Regions from separate parts of the Homo sapiens genome. Here region 1 is linked to region 2. The links are contacts of gene promoters, found by promoter capture Hi-C in blood cells and fetal thymus (Javierre and others, 2016). All regions are on one chromosome and are shown on one strand. The core of a region is centred on a gene start or on the middle of the fragment in contact, and the rest is flanking DNA. Distances in the headings are between cores, read along the strand shown. Region 1 overlaps CHD9 (chromodomain helicase DNA binding protein 9). Region 2 holds the start of CYLD (CYLD lysine 63 deubiquitinase).

Region 1 (6,722 bases), core at 3,197-5,696, 2.3 Mb before region 2:
AACTTCAGTTATTCAAATATCACCTTCACATTTTGTGTGTGTGTGTGTGTGTGTGTGTGTGTGTGTGTGTGTGTGTGAAATTTATGAGAAGCAGCATAATTCTGCAATTTAGAGCACAAATCTGGAGCAGGACCACCTGGGTTTATTTTCCAGCTCATCACTTCCTAGCTATATAACTTTGGGCACGTTATTTAACTTCTCTATGCCTGTTTGCTCAGTAGTAACATGGGGCAAAGAGTCCCTACCTCAAATAGTACTTAACCCATATTGGTGAGGATTAATTGAATGATTTGAATGACGCATGGAAAGTGCTTAGAAGAGCATCCAGCACTTAGTAAGTACCCAGTAAGTGGTGGGTATTTTATACATATATATTTTTCTAATAAAATTCTTTTATTTTTTATTTTATTTTTTTGAGACGGAGTTTCACTCTTGTTGCCCAGGCTAGAGTGCAATGGCGCGATCTTGGCTCACCACAACCTCTGCCTCCCGGGTCCAAGCGATTCTTCCCTTAGCCTCCCGAGTATCTGGGATTACAGGCATGTGCCTGGCTAATTTTGTATTTTTAGTAGAGATGGGGTTTCTCCATGTTGGTCAGGCTGGTTTCAATCTCCCAACCTCAGGTGATCAGCCCTCCTTGGCCTCCCAAAGTGCTGGGATTACAGGCGTGAGCCATCGCACCCGGCTCCATAAATTTTTATTTTTAAATAATTGGGGTCTTCCTGGAGTGCAGTGGCATGATCATAGCTCACTGTAACCTCGAACTCCTGGGCTTAAACCATCCTCCCACCTCAGCCTCCTGAGTAGCTGGATTACAGGCATGCATCACTACACCCAGGTAATTTTTAAAATGTTTTGTAGAGATGGGGTCTCACTATGTTGCCCAGGCTGGTGTCCAACTCCTGGCTTCAAGTGACCTCCCTGCGTGTACCTCCCAAAGTATTAGGATTACAGGCATGAGCCACTGCACCTGGCCTATTATATTTTATTCTATCCTCATACCATTGATACTCTTATTTAATATTTTTCTTTAAATGGACACACGATTTATATACATTTATTTTAAGGGAAACGTTATATTACTACCATACATGAAAAGCCATGTACAGGTGGAAACTGTAAAGATAAACATAACAGCAAACAATGTTATTAGATTGTTACAGTTTTAACAATGTTATTAAATGGTCACACTTACTGTTGCCTCTTAAATGCCCTGAACTGGAGGACTGCTGTCTTTCCAATGAAAGAGGAGACAATCAAGTGTTACAGTAGCATTCTAGTACTTTGCCCAGACTTCTGTTGGCTGCAGTCAGAAGCAAGAGTCCCAGTCCCACAAGTTGGAGGAAGTGAAAGGCCAGCGTGGGTGGAGCACCTGCTCTGGGGAGAGAGGGCAGCCCCAGGGGTGAGAGGCGGGCAGAGCAGGATCAAAGAGACAGCTCAAAAGGGAAAAATCCCTTTCCCATTCTGAGACTTTGTGCTCTTGGGTACCATGTCTCTCTCTGTGCCACACCAAAGCCATCTCACAAGACCCCTTGTGGTATGAGTTGCACATCTTAGAAAGCAAAGTCAGAAACACTTTGTTGGAGACACTATGGGTGCCCCACCCATACTCCTCAGCTCACCCGAGGTTACCTGCAGACATTTCCAGATGCCCTGGGCTACCTTTCACTTCTGCTTTAAGTTATTTTCTGGCTTCAGGGTGTGCACAGCAGACAGTTAGCAAGACAACCCTCAATAATGAGGTATGAGAGTCGAGGATATACCCCAGTCTCCCTGCCTTTTCGTGGGACACTTCTGAAATATTTTCTATAGTCTCGCTAAGGGTCCCTGAGGGATGGAGACCCAATTGCCCAGTGGTAACTCACTCATCAACACCTTTTTTATTGGCTTTTCTCCCTTTCTCGGTTAATTTCACTCTCACTGGGCTTCCTGGGATCATTTCCGAAATACATTTCTGGCACCTGAATCCTTTTCTCGTGATCTGCTTTGGGGGAAACTACAACTATGACACAGCTTTAAACTTCTGTCAGTGGAATGAGTTGCCCAGTGAGATGTGAAGTTCCATCTTACTGAGGACTCAAGAAATGGCTGACAATGTTCAATGGAGATTCACAGGTCAGGTAAAGACTCAAATCAGATGAACACTTAGTATTCCTTTTGTGTGTCTGTCTTTTTTGTTTGTTTTTTTGTTTTAAAGAGACAGCATCTTGGCCAGGCGAGGTGGCTCATGCCTGTAATCCTAGCACTTTGGGAGGCCAAGGCGGGTGAATCACCTGAGGTCAGGAGTTCGAGACCAGCCTGGCCAACATGGCGAAACCCCATCTCCACTAAATACACAAAAATTAGCCAGGCATGGCAGTGGGCACCTATAATTCCAGCTACTTGGGAAACTGAGGCAGGAGAATCGCTTGAACCCGGGGGGGCGGAGGTTGCAGTGAGCTGAGATCATGCCATTTCACTTCAGCCTGGGCAAAAGAGTGAAACTCCGTCTCAAAAAAAAAAAAAAAAAAAAAAAGAGACAACATCTTGCCCTGTCACCTAGGCTGGAGTGCGGTGGTGCAATCATGGCTCACTATAGTCTCAAACTCCTGGTCTGAAGTGATCCTCCCCCGTCAGCTTCCCAAGTAGCTGGGGCTGCAGGTGCATGCCACCATGCCCAGCTAATTTTCGTTTGTTTTTTGAGACAGGGTCCCCCTCAGTTGCCCAGGCTGGAGCGCAGTGGCATGATCATGGCTCATTGCAACCTCAAACTCCTCAGCTCAATTGATTCGCTTACCTCAGCCTCCTGAGTAGCTGGGACTACAGGTGCACCACCACACCTGGCTAATTTTTCATTTTTTTGTAGATATGGGGTCTTGCTATGTTGCCCAGGCTGGTCTGGAACTTCTAGACTCAAGTAATCCTCCCACCTCAGCCCCCCAAAGTTCTGGAATTACAGGTGTGAGCCACCAATCCAGGCCCCAGCTAATTTTTAAAATTTTTAAAATAGAAATGAGGTCTCACTATGTTGCCCAGGCTGACCTTGAACTCCTGGCCTCAAGCAATCCTCCTGCCTCAGCTTCACAAAGTGCTGGGGCTACAGGCATGAGCCACTGCACCCAACCTACCTAGTATCCTTCTGATCCTCAGGTCTCATTATTCGGGATCAGGAGTCAGCAAACTACAGCCCACAGGCCACATCCAGCCTACTGCCTGTTTTTGTATAGCCTGTGAGCTAAGAATGGTTTTTACATTATTTATTTGTTTGTTTGTTTGTAGAGATGGGGGTCTTGCTATGTTGCCCAGGCTGGTCTTGAACTCCTGGCCCCAAGCAATCCTCCCTCCTTGGTCTTCCAAAGTCCTGGGATCACAGATATGAGCCACCATGCCTGGCCAGCTTTTACATTTTTAAATGGTTGAAAAAAATGTTTAAAGAATAATATTTTGTGACACAGAAAAATTATGTGAAATTCAAAACTTCAGTGTCCATAAAGCTTTATTGGAACCCAGATATACTCATTTGTTTACATACCATCTACGGCTGCTTTTACTCTACAGTGGCAGTTTCTCATCAACATTACAAGAAACGACGTTACTTGGACTTACTGTACGTCATTTCGCTTAAAGTTGCAGTTTCTAAGAACCTAACGAGGACATTAATTGAGAATTTACTGCAGTTGCAACTGAAACCCTATGGTCCATAAAGCTCAAAATATTTACTCTCTGGACCTTTACAGAAAAAGTTTGCTGATGCCTGTTCACGGTCATTATCCTGCAGAGACAAGAGGCAGATTGAGGCCTGGCTGCCCCATGAGTGGGGAGGCCGATGCCCAGACCTAGTATTTGGGGGCAGTTTGAATCAGAACCTCACATTTCCTTTTGCCACATCTTTATGACCATGGTCATTACTCCCACCCTCTGCAAGTACCTAAGACTCTTTCACAGAGGAATTCATGTCTTTATACCAGTAATATTTTTTGACTAAATTTTTTTTCCATTTTTCTTGTTGTTAAAGATAGAGGTGGGGGTCTCACTATGTTGCCCAGGCTAGTCTTGAACTCTTGGCCTCAAGCATTCCTCCCACTTCTGCTTCCCAAAGTGCTGGGATTACAGGCATATGCCACTGTGCCCAGCCACCAGAAATATTTTTCTTTTTTAAAGGACATGAGAAATTTTCTTCTCCACACCCTGCCACTATCCCACGTGGTTTCATCGACGCTTGATCACTTTCACCACCACTTAGTTACTGATTTCTCCCCAGAACAAACCAAACCTCCAGCCCACGTCCTGAGATTTCTGATCAATACCCAAATGTTGGCCAGGTAAGGTAGATCATGCTTGTAATCTCAGTGCTTTGAGAGGCCAAGGCAGGAGAAACACTTGAGTCTAGGAGTTGGAGACCAGCCTAGGCAACACAGTAAGACCCTACTTAAAAAATTAGCTGGGCATGATGGTGTGCACCTGTAGCCCCAGCTACTTGGCTGGGTGGGAGGATCCCTCGAGCTCAGGAGGTTGAGGCTGCAGTAGCTATGATCATACCACTACAGGAGGCATGGGTGACAGAGCAAGACCCTGTGTCTTAAAAACAACAACAAAAGAAACCAAAAACCAACAAAACAAAACAAAACAAAAAACCCAAATGTCTGGTCAACATTAGATTAAGTTGGAGGGTGGGGGGTGTTGCTGCTTACCAGCAGTGCAACTTTGGGCAAGTCATTTAACAGCATGGAACGTCAATTTCATCATCTCTCAAAGGCGGAAATGATCCTGTCCAACCTGCCAGGATTACCGTGCTAATCGGATGAAATGAGAGCTGCCCACAAGACACTGAGCCGCCTGGCCCCAGCCTCTCTCCCTTTCACCACCACACTCCCTGCCCACTGGCTCTCCTTGAGTCCCCTGGCCTTGCCAAGCTCTTGGCTATCTCTGTACATGCTGACCTTTCTGCCAGAAACATCTTTTTCTAACCCCACCTTCTGCCTGGCAGATCAATGCATAACCTTTGTTTATGTGTGTTTCTGTTTAAAGATACCTTATAGGCCAGGTGCTGTGGCTTGAGCCTGTAATCCTAGCACTTTGGAGGCCAAAGTGGGTGATCACCTGAGGTCGGGAGCTCGAGACCAGCCTGGGCAACATGGTGAAACCTCGTCTCTACTAAAAATACAAAAATTAGCTGGGCGTGGTGGCATGTGCCTGTAGTACCAGCTACATGGGAGGCTGAGGCAGGAGAATCGCTTGAACTCCAGAGGTGGAGACTGCAGTGAGCTGACATCGTGCCACTGCACTCCAGCCTGGGAGACAGAGTGAGACTCCATCTCAAAAAAACAAAAACAAAGACAAAAGACACCTTATTTGATATATATTGTTGATATATATACATATTATTCATTAACACTGAACTCAGCCAACTGCACTATAACTCATGCCTGAACGAAGCTTACCTAACAGACAAGCTTTCTCTGTAAGGCACATCGCAGCCTTCTCATACTTAGGAACACTAGACAGCACGTCAACTGTACACTTGGGGCCATTTCAAACAGCGACATCACAAACAAAAACACACAAACATGCAAAAAATGTGGCACTAAGTACACCACAAAAGGGACACTTGTTTATAGCACAAGAGCTGAAACCAGAAAGCAGCGTGTCCTCCTGTTTGCCCTTGGCTGGAAATGTGCACGTTGGGTGACTCAACTTTTTCACTATTCTACGTGCATCCATATATGACTGTGAAAGTGTCATGGATATTGATTTGGAAGTTACGCAGACATTATTTTTCTTTTTTCTTTCTTTTTTTTTTTTGAGATGGAGTTTCGCTGTTGTTGCCCAGGCTGGAGTACAATGGCGTGATCTTGGCTCACTGCAACTTCCACCTCCCAGGTTCAAGCAATTCTCCTGCCTCAGCCTCCCAAGCAGCTGGGATTACGGGCTCTTGCCACCACGCCCAGCTAATTTTTTGAATTTTTAGTAGAGACGGGGTTTTGCCATGTTGGCCAGGCTGGTCTCGAACTCTTGACCTCAGGTATCCACCCACCTCGGCCTCCCAAAGTGCTGGGATTACAGGCATGAGCCACTGCACCCGGCCTTTTTTCCTCTTTTTTTTTTTAAATGAGCCAAGGTCTCTCTATGCTGTCCAGGCTGGTCTCAAACTCCTTAGCTCAAGTGATTAGGCTGGTGTCAAACTCCTAAATTCAAACTCCTAACCTCACACCTCAGTCTCCCAAAGTGCTGGGATTACAGGTGTGAGCCACCACACCCGGCCACAAACATATTTTTTTAAAAATTCTTTAATTATATAATTTTTAAAATAAAGATATAGGGTCTTACTGTGTTACCCAGGCTGATCTGGAACTCCTAGCCTCAAGTAATCTTTCTGCCTCAGCTTCCCAAAGTACTGGGATTATATGCATGAGCCACCATGCCTGGCCACAAACAAATTTTTTTTAAGAATTATTCAATGTGTATAATTTTTAAGCAAACAGGGCCTTGCTCTGTTGCACAGGCTGATCTGAAACTCCTAGCCTCAAGCGATCCTCCTGCCTCAGCCTCTCAAAGTGCTGGGATTACAGGGAAGAATTTGCAAATTTAGAACTTGTGAATAATGAGAATCTACTGCACTTTCTTCCTGTTTCTCTCATTCGGGGCTGGCTGAATTCTGTCTTACTCATATTTTATCTCTAGCATCTGGAAAACTGCCTGGCCCACAGTAGGCTCTCAATAATAAATGTATTTCCAATGAGCGA
Region 2 (5,931 bases), core at 2,716-5,215:
CTCTCACATATATACACACTCCATTATATATATATATTTATTTTATGTACTCAAAATACCAGTATTGCAATAAAAATATGCTAACATACATTTCTCCCCACTGTAGAAGTGAATATAACACCAACAGTCTACTTTCACTGGGATGTGCATAGTAGTTAAATAGTTAAAGTCTTAGGTACCCCAAGCAGTAAAAACTGACTCAACACAATATGAAGGGAAAGATCTAAATCACATTGTAAATGAGTTATTTATCATCAAGAAGGTTGGTTTGTTAGTTTGGTATTTTTTACGCTTTCAGTACAGAGTTAGATACTGAAAACTACATCATCTAGGCTAGGCACAGTGGCTCACTCCTGTAATCCCAGCACTTTGGAGGCTGAAGTGGGAGGATCCCCTAAGCCCTGGAGTTCAAGGCTTTAGTGAGCTGTGATAGCACTACCGCACTCCTGCCTGGGTGACAGAATGAGAGCCTGTCCCAAAAGGAAGAAAAAAAAAGAAAAGAAAATTAGCCGGGTGTGGTGGTGTCTGCCTGTGGGCCCAGCTACTCAGGGTCCCAGCTACTCTGGAGGATGGGAAGATCGCTAGAGCCCAGGAGGTCCAGGCTGAAGAGAGCTATGATCACACCACTGTACTCCAGCCTGGGTGACAGAGCAAGACCTGGTCTCAAAAAAAAAAAAAAAAAAAAAAACAAAGAGGAAAGAGAGAACACACACAAAAAAAAACCCAACATCAATCCACATTCACTCAGCTTCTGCCTTTAAGTAAAGGCCTAGGGAACAGTAAGACAACTGAAGGAAAAAGAAGCACAGCTAAATTCAAAGTCACCGTAGGGCAGGTGGGGGTGAGGGGTCAGTGTGAAGGGAGAAATTTTCACTTGTATTCTCTTATTATTTTGCAGGTTGAATCACTTTGAGTGAGTATATCACAAATGACTCATCTAAATACTATCTTACTTCAGGCTGGATAACTGTGTGATTATGAATATCTTGGTAATAAATACTGAATGAAAATTACCAACGAGTTGAAACACAATAATATGTTTAACCCTAAAGCCATGTTGAACAGAAGGCCTTTCCTTTAAGGACGCTGATGAAGGAGAACAGTTCAGGTTCACATAGATTTGAAAACATTTCTGGTTATCTGAGCTTGTTGATGGTCTGGATTCTGAGTAAAGGGGAACTTACTTGTATTAAGATGAAGTCATTCAACCAAGACGAGAGTTGGAAGGCACAAATATTTATCAATTTTCCATGAAGACAATGGAAAGATGATCAGGAAATATGTTTTACATGAAAATGTTAAAGATTACAATTACCACATTCTGAAAGGCAACATATAGTACAAATGAACATCAGTAGCTACAGAAAACTAACAATGGTTAACTTATCCAGAAGATGCAGTGTTTTTCTGATTCTCAAGTTATCAGGTTATATTGTTCATAAGGATCTCACAAAGACAGATCCAATTCAAGAGCTTTTTGCATCTCCAAAGATATCCTGCTTGTTCTAAAAACCACAGGAAGCTATTTAAATTAGAATAAAACTTACAATACTTAATTCTGCCCCTAATTATAAATGGCAAAGAGGTAGGAAGGTCAGCTTGAACACCAAAGAAAGAAGACATGTGGGCCTTTTTCCAAAAGCTTCTGGATAGCTAGAATGATCATCCTTTTAAAAGAGAACATCTCTCACTAAAAGACAAAGTTGTTATATTTCTAAACAGCTAAAGAATAGAGATACAGAGATTCCGTGGCCAGAAAAAAGACTGAGTCCGTTTTAATTTTCCTCAATGACTAATTTGTGTCACAAGTACACAGTCCCTAATACAAGTGGGATTTATAAGGTTAAAAAAAAAAAAGAAAAGAAGAGCCTCTCACATCTGCATATTCCCACTGGAACAAGGAATACTGCTGCCTCTCTAGTGTTAAACCTAGCCACTCCACTGCCAAACTGTGAATTCCCCAAGTCCTTCATTTTTATATTATCCAGTGCCCACACGAGAGCCTGGCATATGCTAGGCACTGAATACAGAGAAATGAATGAAAGACTCAAGTGGTAACAGTGAAAACAAAATTGCATTTCCTCCTCCTGTTTAAGGGATTAAACCAAGAGAAAGAGAAGAGAAAAAGACTCAGGAATTGGGAGTATTTAATGAATTTTGCCTAAAACTTCAGTAATTCTCTAGATAAAATGAAATCATGCTAAACCACTTCATTGTTATACATATAAGAAGAAACAAATACGGAAAATTTCACAATTACGAAACCAAGTTGTTTTGAGGTTTATTTGATACTAGCTTCCTACAGCCTCAACTAGCATGTATGATGCTTATAAATTCTGTACAACCAATGAAAAAAAAACTAATTTAAATCATAGTGTGAAAATCAGGAACAAAATACTAATAGTTTGATAAACAACATAACTATTCCTTTCTCTCTCCCTGTGTTGGAGACTTCCTTAAATCAAACAAAACCACAGTTTAGGTGTGCCAGACTATAAAAATCATTGCTGCTTAATGTTAGTTGTGCTTTATATAACAAGCCTTATCTGCTTCTCACAAAAGTTACCACCCAGAGGAAGGTTTATTTGCAAGAATACTATACAATTTTGCAGCAGAATATTAGAGAATGTTCTGGGTGTTACTTCAATAAGAATTTCCAGCAAATCATTTTCTCCTAATACTGTTCTAGTTCAAATCCACCTACTGCTCAGTGGGGAATGGGAGGCTAAATTCTTAAGGCCATTCAGTCTACTTGGGGCGTGAGGGGGTGTGTAGAAAGCCAACAATCAAACGAACACCCTCTCAAGGCCTGGGTGCTTCTCTGAGAGCCAATGATTGCAAAATGAACAATCTTATTAAGATCCCTAATTAGCCCGAATTCAAAAGCAAGGTAGGCATGCTCCTTAGCTGAGCTAAGGATAAAACTTTCCAGGAAAAATTGAGGAGAAGAAGGTGGCAGGGATGATGGGGGCTGGGAGACTGCAAGGCCACAGGCTTGGTGGCTGGAAGATGACAACTATCCTAAAACATTCAAATGCCAAGGGGTGGAAGAGAAACGATGCCAAGTACATGAATAACCGGCAGCTGACCCAGCTGAGTACCAAACTCAACACCATCTCCTGAAGATTTCATGACTTCGCCCCCGCCCCCCATTCGCCCCCCACCCCCCTCGATTGTTAACATGAAAGAAAAACATAAAGAAAGAATACCTGTCACAGCAGGGCGCACCTTTCAACTAAGGAACTCCGGGTGGCTGTGTAGAACCATCCTCACCCTAGAAAGGGGGAAACTGAAAGAAAAAGCAGAACACGCCATTAACAAGGCCAGAACCCCGACTGCCATTCCTGGACGGGAGCCACCAACACCCGCAAAATCGATCGGTACGTACGCCCCGCGGCGCGGTCGGTAGGAATCACAGCCCCGGGCTCCTGAGGCCAACCGTGGCCGTCGGGGCCCGCCAGCGGCCTGTGCCTCAGTCTCCCAATCTGTAAATGGGGTGGGGGGCGGGAGGGGGACAGCGTCCCGCGCGGCTCCCGCCCCAAGTCCTCTCTCCTCTGGGGGTCCCGATGGTGGCGACCCCGCACGCTCCCCGGACTCGCAGCCCTCCCGGGAAGCCTCGGGGGATGGGGAAGCCCCGGTGGGGGGGGGAAACCCGGGCTGACGTCAGCGGGCTCGGCAACCCGCGGGCCCGGCCGGCTCGGGCCCGGGCAACTAACGGGCCGGCGCCGAGGGCCCGATGGTCGCCGCGGCGGCTCCGGACGCCCTGAGGCCAGGCGGCTGCGCCGAGGGGATCCGGCCGCCCGCCGGCCGCCAGCCGCCCGCTCATTCACTAACCTCGGGCGGCGGGGCGTCGCCCCTCGCCCCGGCTCCCCAGCCCGCGTCCCGGGCCGGCCCCGGCTCCCCACACCCACCGCCCTAGTATTTACCTCCGACGCGCGGCCCCCGCGCAGCCAAACCTGCTACCTGGGCCCGCCCCCACCTGCCCCGCCTCCGAACCGCACAGGGAAGAGGGAGGGAGCGGGGGCGGAGGGGGCAGCCGCCGCGCTAGCCAATCGTAGGCCGAGCTGCGCTCCTGAGCGGGCCGTGATTGGGCCTCCCTGTGACAGACCTTCCTCCAATGGCTGCCAGCCCGGCGCCGGCCGAAGGGACTTTCCGCTCTGTCAAGCTCGGTGGAACCAAAGGGAAAGCGAAGGGGCGGGGCAGAGAAGAGCGGCGGATGGAGGCGGGAAGCTCAAGCTGATTGGGCGAAAGGCTGTGGGTGCCGCGTCACCATTGGCTGATGCTGGAGCCGGGGCGGGGCGCTGCGCTGCCACCAGCTCCGCCTCCCGTGCTCCCGCCTCAGCTGTCAAAACTGTAGACGCTTAGGTTTGGGCTGGGTTAAGAGTCCAGATGAAGGTTGAAATAGGATTCCAGGATGCCGTGAGAGAGCAAAGCTTTAGAATCAGACCTCAGTTTGAATCTTTGGCGCTTTCATTCAGTGGCTGCGTGACCTGAGGAAGTCACAACCACGCTGAGCCTCAATGTCCTCATCTGTAAAATGGAGATCATAGTATCGGTTGTCTTACAGGATTGTGGCAAAATACCGAGCTAAAGTTCCTGGCACGCAGTACCAGCTCAGGAAAGGTTCATCTCTTCCTCCTCCGCAGATTCAGCCTGGGACGCTTGCTGTTTCCGAACCTCTGTTGCCACCTATCCCAGTTTGGAGGGAATTTTCCCAAGGATGGTGAAGAAGGGATTTCCACACGCCGCCTCACTCAGCCCCGCACCCCTGGCCACCAGCCAGGACTTAGGGTGTAGTTAAGGATCTTTCAATTAGAAGGGAGGCTTCTGATTCCCAAAAGCACTCAAAATATTTAAGGAAGTGCTTTTTATAATCAGTCCTAGAGCCTTGCTGCACTGGATACTCCTGTTAATTAATTTCTTCTCCTTTGACATTTTAAGTGCTAATTATAGGAGAAGGTGATTAACACTGAGAAAGGAGGAGGGGTGTGTGTGTGTGTGTGTGTGTGTGTGTGTGTGTTTTTAATCATGACACAAATTTCCCCCAGTGGAAAGTGACATGTTTCTGGAGATCCAGGGAATTTAAACCAATGAATACATAAAAACAGTCACATGAGTGATGACTAACAGTAGCAGTAGACAGGCCACCACTCTTCCTTGCCATAGTCATCCAAAATGAAATGAGCATCTTTTGAAAACCTAAGCCTCATTCTACTCCTGTCCCTCTTTTGTCACTCCTATCTTCCTGTTTTCCAGGCTTCATGACCACACTGCTGTAGGAAGCCATAAGTTGGAAATCAACGGGCCTGGCTTGAAGTGTGGCCTTAGGCAACACCGTTCTCATCTACATCTGGATTCTCCAACAAAGCTGGTAGGACTCAGAGGTCACAGTCCAACTGTCTGGAAGAAAATTTCAGCTGAAATTTGTTTTTGCCTAACCCATACGATAAGGAGGAAGGAGAAAAGAATGTGAAGGAGAGAGATTTGGGGTCCTTTTAGGCAAGGCAAACATTCTCATGTTACCACTGGGACCACTTCTCTTATCTGCACGATCTACATCCACTGGTCCCTTAAGGCATCTGAGTTTGCCACTCTGGACTAGAATATTTTCATGTCCCTTCTTTTTGTTTTTGTTGTTGTTGTTGCTGGGGTGTTTGTTTGTTTGTTTCTTTGTTTTGAGACAGAGTCTTGCTCTGTTGCCTAGGCTGGAGTGCAATGGTGCGATCTCAGCTCACTGCAACCTCCGCCTCCCAGGTTCAAGCAATTCTCCTGCCTCAGCCTCCCAAGTAGCTGGGATTACAGGTGCCTGCCACCACACCCAGCTAATTTTTGTATTTTTAGTAGAGACAAGGTTTCACCATATTGACCAGGCTGGTCTCAAACTCCTGACCTCAAGTGATCTGCCTGCGTCAGCCTCCCAAAGTGCTGGGA

The links. The method cuts DNA at HindIII sites, captures the fragments that hold promoters and counts their contacts. A CHiCAGO score of 5 or more calls a contact.
Region 1: a contact is called between a fragment that was not itself captured here and the fragment with the promoter of CYLD in region 2, in 1 of 17 cell types (M0 macrophages). The highest score is 8.2, in M0 macrophages.

Annotation. Positions count from the first base shown.
Region 1 is chr16:53,056,714-53,063,435 of GRCh38, reverse strand. The region is part of intron 1 of CHD9 (chromodomain helicase DNA binding protein 9); the gene reads right to left. Among named protein-coding and RNA genes, the nearest start is that of CHD9, 5.1 kb to the right of the region's middle. RefSeq lists enhancers at 1,221-1,580, 1,841-1,890, 2,001-2,060, 5,358-5,407 and a silencer at 2,585-2,811. The HindIII fragment of the contact is 1,942 bases long and covers 3,476-5,417 here.
Region 2 is chr16:50,740,120-50,746,050 of GRCh38, reverse strand. It overlaps CYLD (CYLD lysine 63 deubiquitinase), which reads right to left and starts at 3,965. Exons shown (of 19, transcript NM_001378743.1): 1 at 3,927-3,965; 2 at 3,210-3,289. It overlaps CYLD-AS1 (CYLD antisense RNA 1), which reads left to right and starts at 3,304. Exons shown (of 7, transcript NR_184279.1): 1 at 3,304-3,380; 2 at 4,647-4,723; 3 at 5,257-5,371. It overlaps MIR3181 (microRNA 3181), which reads right to left and starts at 3,746; the gene lies at 3,674-3,746. RefSeq lists an enhancer at 3,211-3,310 and a silencer at 3,551-4,150. The HindIII fragment of the contact is 2,791 bases long and covers 1,645-4,435 here.